Regions from separate parts of the Homo sapiens genome. Here region 1 is linked to region 2. Evidence: promoter capture Hi-C in 16 types of primary human blood cells and fetal thymus (Javierre and others, 2016). All regions are on one chromosome and are shown on one strand. The core of a region is centred on a gene start or on the middle of the fragment in contact, and the rest is flanking DNA. Distances in the headings are between cores, read along the strand shown.

Region 1 (3,842 bases), core at 870-3,369, 1.5 Mb before region 2:
GGGCTTATATTCATTTATTTATGTATTTAATAATATTTTGAGCATGTATCAGGTACTAAGTACTGTTCTCAATGCTGGTGATACAGCAGAAAGCAAGATAAATTCCCTTCCTCATGGTGTTTATATTTGAGTGTGGAGTTCATCAATCTCAGCGTTATTTTTGGCCAGATAATGTTTTGTTGTGAAAGTCTGTTCTGTGCGTTATAGGATAACTTGAAGCATCCCTGCCCTCTACCTCAGCAGTTTACTGGTCGGGGAATGCAGATTGAACTAAGGCAAGAGTAACGGAGATAAAGAGGAAAGAGGCAGATTATGGTGATATTTAGGAAGTGATGGCACACATATACATATGTAACAAACCTGCACGTTGTGCACATGTACCCTAGAACTTAAAGTATAATAATAATAGCAATAAAGGAAGTGACATTGACAAACTTGGTGGCTGATTGGGTCTGGGAGATAAGAAAGAAACAGGAATCAAATATGGGTCCAAAGTGACTTATTTAAATGTGTGTGTGTGTGTGTGTGTGCACACTCATGGATTTTACTCTTCAGAGGCCATGGTTATAATAGAACAACTGTACTTTTTTTATAGAGGCTGAGGATTGAATCCATGTTTGGGTGTTCTTTGTCAGGGGAACTGCTTTTAATTTTCATTTTGGGTAGGGTCTAATGCATCATGTATAGGTGCATATATGTGGCTCAACCCTTTGCTTTATCTCTGATAAAACCAAAGAGAAAATACCTGTCTGTAAGCCTCAGCATATCCTGGAGGTCAATATTCTTGGGAAACCTATCAAAGGAGAGAGACTGGGGCAAAAATCGCTGCCTTGTGCTCACAGATAACCCTCAGAATAACTTCCCTGATGGCATTGGTTTGGATTGCCCTCCGAATGTGAATTTCACGCTTGATGAAAGTCATCTCAAAGCCAATAGAAGGAATTTGAGCAGAGGAAATCAGATTTATGTAATCTGCTTTAGCCTCTTTCTATTCTAGTATCTCAAGCATCTTTCTGCTCCTTCTCTACCTCAGTGGTTTTAAGCTTCACTTTGTTATTCTGTTTTCCCAGACCTTTTCCCAGCTGTTATGTGACAGGCCACAGGGCAAGTATAGACATGTATTGGTTGCTTATTTTTAATTGAAAAATTTTGTTTTTTGTCCTTAACTTTGAATGGTTTAATGTGGGTATTTCCTGAGTTTCTCAAAATCATACCAGACAAAACAAAACAAAACAAAAAACAAAAGACAATCTCAAAGCGAAATCAAATGAGTCTCTCAGGCCCCACTTCTCTCTGCAAAAAGGTGATTTATGACCTATATTAAGGTTCCCCTGTGTCCAAATTTGTTTTTGTAGTTGGGCCATGTGTAAATCTATTGTCCTGGGGAGTCAGTTATCTACTTGCATGGGTTGATTTATAAAGGAGACTGCGGCACATTGGATAAAGGAGTAGGAAGAATATTTTTGTGCGTACCTGGGACTTGAAACGAGACAGAATATCATGCCATCAGTACTCCATCTGGTTCCTTGGACTCAGTTTGAATGCCAGTGGGGTAAGAGAGTGACTCAGTGCTGAAGGAATTTGTTTTTTCAAAGCCTTAGGTGACAGAGTGTAGCAGAGAGACAAAGATAGGGCTACTGTCTCCACTGTTGCACAGACGTTACAATTACTCCAGCAATACTAGGATTGGCAGCTTTCGGCACATTCCGGACTTGCTTACCTAGCATGGACATTGATTGTAGGAACAATGATAAAGATGAGGAATGTGAATAGGCTTGTTCTGGAAAACACCAAAGTCAACCCTTAGAATCCAGGGAGAAAGTAAATAAGAGACACTCTGATGGGGAGAGTCTAATGCCATCCAAAACAAGTGGACAGAAATCATATAGAATTTGGGTCATCTTACCTTATTTGTACTAAAAGGCATGGGATGTTGAATTAGCCATAAAGGCCCTAGATAGGAAAATATTTGTCTACATGTGCAGTAGAACTTTAATAAAAAACTTGGTATGAGTTCCCTGACAGAATTTCAACCAATGTCCCTCATCTACTTATCACATACTCTGACTCTTAAATGTCATCTACAGTCTCTGCTTTCTGAGTGACAAAGCAGAGAATGTAAAACTAGAAACAAATTGTCTGGCTAAACTCTGGGCTGCTTAGTATGTAAAACCAGTGAATGCCATTAGCTTTGCTGAGCTGATAATCATCAAGGCTGTGGTCTAGTATTTGTCAAAGAGAATCAGGGACCAGGCTTTCTAAGCTGTTGATTTACATCTAAATGTTTCTGTTTGATTGTGTGTTGATTTGGGAATTGGAATGGTGTGCCATGTATTCATCTTCTCACTTTCTTAAGCATCTTGAAATTTAGAACATCCACATTTTAAAAATTTCAAACGGATCCACAAGTAGAAGTATTTGTCCTCCCCTATTTGTGTGAAAAATACAACAGGCTGTACTGAAAACTTTCAGCAAGTGCTATTTATTCTTATTACTTGGCACAGAGCCATCTCAACTCCGTCTCCAAATAGTACAGCCCTATGTGTTTAATTTCTGGTTGTCTAGTTGGGGAAATGTGGGATAGTATTGAACAACAGCAAAAGTCAAATTTTCTCATCATCTTTGTCTACTGAATAAACAGTAAATGAGTTTATATAATGAAAGAGTAAAGAAATGACCTAATCCTCAAAAATTGGATATTTATTAAGGGGACTATGGGATTCTGTAGAAGAATATGTTACCATTTAAAATGAAAACATGTTTAAGAAGCATATCTAATGATATGTCAAAATACTCCTTGTCTAGTGCTAAGTGAAAACAGTAGATCACAAAAATGAATATATACCCCATGTGGATGTTAGGAGGTGAAAGTAACCTTATGCAATAGTTTATGCAAGTGTTTAGTGAGCATCTACAGGGGGAGGACCAACAAGGACCTTTATCTTATAAGCTCACATCATAGTAGCAAAGATAGATAATGAAGTAGCAACTAATCATTCTCCTAAGACTGTGACATTTGAGTCACTTGAATGACAAAATGGAGCCATATATGAAAAATGAAAGAGAATGGCATTCTCATCAGAGAGAAGTGTAAGTTCAAATGACCTGGTGTGAGAATGAGCATGGAATGTTTGAGGAACAGAAGGAAGGCCAATTTTGCTAGAGTGAAGTGATTGAGGAAGGGAGTGGTAGATGATAAGCTTTGAATGGAGCAAAGACACCGGTCACATAAGATTACATGGGCTCCAGTAGAGTCAGGATTTTATTAAGGGAACATGGGAAGCCAGCTTTTAAGCAAGGGAGTGACATAATTGGTTTTATGCTTTTGAAATATTCCTCTGGCTACTATGTGTAGAATGAACTGTAGGGGACAATCAGACCTGTCAGAGAATATTACAGGCACAGAGGAGAGAGATAATGACTTCTTAGTCTAGGTTACGGGTCTCAGTCAGGTCATTCCTCCCATCCCCCAGCCCTTTCAGAAAATACATTAGACAATGTCTCTAGATACTGTTGGTTGTCATAACTGGGAAGGGGTTGCTACTGCTATCTAGAAGAGAGAGACCAGGGATACTACTAAGTATCTTACAATGCACAGGACAACCTCTCACAACAACAAAAATATTTAGCACAAAATGTAAATGAAACTAAAATGGGAAAACCCTGAATTAAGATGGAAAAACCTTGAACTAACCCAGTGGAGATGAGACAAGTAGGTAGATTCTTAGTTAATTCTACAGATTAAATGAACAGGATTCACTGAGAGATTGGATGAGGAGGTAAGAGAAAAAAAGTAATAAATAACCATTCCCTGGGAATTATGCTTTATCCACCACTGTCCA
Region 2 (3,432 bases), core at 464-2,963:
ATTATTATGTAATAATATGGTTCTCTAAAAAAAGGAACATGCCCTAAAGCAAAACATTTGTAGCATCAGAAGATCTGGATTCTTATTCTGACTCTGTACCCAATGACCCTGTAGTATCAGATGGATCCCTTAACAACTTGGCACTCAATTTTTCTCTTCTGCAAAATGGGAATGACCATACTTTGGCCTTTCTCCCCAAGGTTATAGTAAAGACCCAATGCCATAGATATAGACAGAGATAGTACATGATGACACTTTGTACTGCATACGTCACCCCATTAAGATAAGAGGTCATTCATTTCAGCCCCTTTTAATATCAAAAACAAGCCTAGTGTTATCTTCGGTAATTGTGAACATGCCCATAATTATACTTTTACCAATGCCAGTAAAGCCAGTAATACATTTGTCTGCAATAGATGTGTTATCTATTCCCTTAGGAAACTAACAATAAAAATAATTCAAGAGTAATTATCTGGCTTTCACACTTTAAAGATGAGAACACATCCTGGTGTGCTATTCATTAATAACGTGGATACATTATATAATTGTATTTTATCTTTTTTAAGAAGTCATTCATGGTCCCACTGACAGCATATATACATCTCCTATGAATTTTTGGATACCAGTGTATGTTTTCCAGGTTCTACCTTAAAAGAAAATCATGTATGGACTTTTGATTATCCATGGTACTGGGAAGTAATTGAAATTCATAGATTAAACACATTCTTCAATCGAACCATTAGCTCAAACTTCTTCCTCACATAACATATCCTCTGGCTGATTTGCGTTTCACCATCCCTTCCCAGGACTCCAACTACCCAGAGCTTATGCTAAGGAGCAATGGAAAGGAAAAATAAATAGACAAAGCAGGCAGTATGAGGAAGGCAATAGGGGTAAAAAACAAGACATGGATAAACTGCAAGCTGAGTAATTGGCTGGAGTAAAATGAGCACTTTCAAATACTCAGCTCTTTCAGGAAACAAAATGACTGCATAATTGTCTAAAACCGCAGTCTGACAACCTGAAAACCACTGCACCTCTATTTAATTTACATTCCAGGAAAACTCAGTCAAAGATCCAATTACAATGTATTACCTTGGATGGAATTTGAATACTATATATGCTCATTGCACTTTCCAATTAGTAGTCAACAAGCATGTTATTTTTACCCCAGAAATATTCGTCTAATAACAACTTCCCATTTGGTGCACCAACAGTTCTGGTTGGTACCGGAGGGGGAGCAAGACACAAATCTGAACCATTTAGGAGTTTCTCTAAACACGTTTTAGGAAGCCCTACCCTTAAAGCCTATATGCCATGCACAATACCAACCTTATGGTCATTCGCCTTGTAATCGTTGAACCGAGGCTGGCCGCCTGCCAAGGTGTAGGCATTACCCTCTCTAAACACACTGATCCTCTGAGCAGTCAGCTTAGGGGAGCACATCTGGGGCCTGGGGACTTCCCCAGACCCATAAACACCATCCATTGTTTCAAGAGACTCTTGCAGAAAACTGTGAGGGTATTCCTCCTTTGGTGACTCTAATTCCTGCCCATCCTCAAAGACCTGCTTCAATACTCGACCGCTGTAGGAGGAGGAGATTTTAAATCGTACTTTCCGGGGTTTGCCATCACTCTTCTGATTCAGCTTTTTCTCAGGGTCCTCCATCAGCAGAAAGTTGACCCTGTGGTCTCCAGCCTTCCGTGCAGCCGGTGAAACTTGGGCCTCTGAGAAAAAGGCATTTTATTTTCTCTCCTCCTGCATATAATTAATTCAAGTTGTTGCTGGGGTATGGTCAGTTTACAGCAACTGACACCCATACATTAAATATTGATAGACCCTCATGAAAAGGCAGGTGATTCTGGTTTGATGGAGTGGATGGAATATAAGACAAGATTGATTCTTCTCATAATCCCAAGCTCACCATGACTTCACCCCAACCCTAACCTTTCTTAACCTGAGGATGAAGAAGTTTATTTAGACTGAACATGTGCCAATTCAATAAGGATCAGACACTCAATTAGTTAACAAGTGTCTTCTTATTGTTAGCAATGACAATTAAAATCTAGTGAGCATTTCATAAGTACCAGAGATTGTTACATGCATTATTTTATTTCATCCTCACGATAACCCTACAAAGAAAATCTTACCTTTGTTTTACACAGGGGAAAGTGAGGCTTAGAGCCACTTGTCATTTATCTTCATCATTTGTCTGCTCTATTACACCTAAGTAAGTGACAGAGCAGGGATTTGAACCCAGATCTATCTGACTCCAAAACCCAAGATCAGCCCACACAACCAGAAGTTTTCCAGTTCTGGTTCTAGAAGAGGGAATGACGTCCTAGATACAGTGGAGGTTCTTGGAGGCTGCTGCTAAGAACAGGAGAAGGCCGAGGGTCCTGGATTCTGGGCCTTCTCCCCCTACGCTAACCAGAGCACCTCCACTTGGTATGTATTTTACATTTAAGATTTCATTTGCAATCACAGCACAAGTCCCCATTGCCTGTTGGACTTCGTAAATGCCTGACACTGAACTAGTGGCTGGAGTGAATAGCACAGAAGCATGTGACCTGGGCCTGAGAACAGTCCTACAATCCCATACAGACCTCACACAGGTGAAATAATAACCTCATGCTTAGAGAGCAAACTGCCCACAGCTGAATCCCAGAATAGCCACTCTGGGAAGGAAGTGGTCTCTAAGGAGACAAGGATGGAAGAAGGTTTGTAAAGAAAAGGGCCCTTGGGCTGGGTAGAAAATGGTAGGTTGGATGTGAGGAGCTGAAAGTGGAGTAAAGCCTTTCTCCCTGTCTTTGCTACCAGCATCACCATTTACTGAGTTACCCAAATTGACCCCTCCTATTCCCCTACAGCCATTCGCTTGGATTCTTTTTTTTTATTATTTTATTTTATTTTTTTTTTTTTGAGACGGAGTCTCACTCTGTTGCCAGGCTGGAGTGCAGTGGTACGATCTCGGCTCACTGCAACCTCCACCTCCTGAGTTCGAGCAATTCTCATGCCTCAGCCTCCCGAGTAGCTGGGACTACAGGCACACGCCACCATGCCCAGCTAATTTTTGTATTTTTAGTAGAGATGGAGTTTCACCATGTTGGCCAGGATGGTCTCAATCTCTTGACCTCGTGATCCGCCTGCCTTGACCTCCCAAAGTGCTGGGACTACAGGCATGAGCCACCGCACCCAGCCCATTCACATGGATTCTTTCACCACTGCCTTCTTTCATCTACCCCTATCACCCTGGCCCTAGGGCAAACCCTCATCACTTTGATTTTTAAAGTTGCAGCTGTCTCCCAAGGACTTCCCTACTCACCCCCAATTCCATTCTCCATATTGATGTGAGAGCAATAGTCCAAAACAACAAATCCACAGGTGTCAGTCTCTTGCTGAAAAATCTTTTCTAGTGCATCAGGGCTTAAG

The links. Contacts are between HindIII fragments. The CHiCAGO score rates a contact against its expected background, and 5 or more counts as called.
Region 1: a contact is called between a fragment that was not itself captured here and the fragment with the promoter of GRXCR2 in region 2, in 1 of 17 cell types (total B cells). The highest score is 5.3, in total B cells.

What each region holds. Positions count from the first base shown.
Region 1 is chr5:144,420,005-144,423,846 of GRCh38, forward strand. All of the region lies in intron 3 of KCTD16 (potassium channel tetramerization domain containing 16), which reads left to right. Among named protein-coding and RNA genes, the nearest start is that of KCTD16, 250 kb to the left of the region's middle. The HindIII fragment of the contact is 2,157 bases long and covers 1,042-3,198 here.
Region 2 is chr5:145,871,301-145,874,732 of GRCh38, forward strand. GRXCR2 (glutaredoxin and cysteine rich domain containing 2) reads right to left here and starts at 1,714. Exons shown (of 3, transcript NM_001080516.2): 1 at 1,333-1,714. The coding sequence starts at 1,668. The HindIII fragment of the contact is 6,212 bases long and covers 1-3,432 here.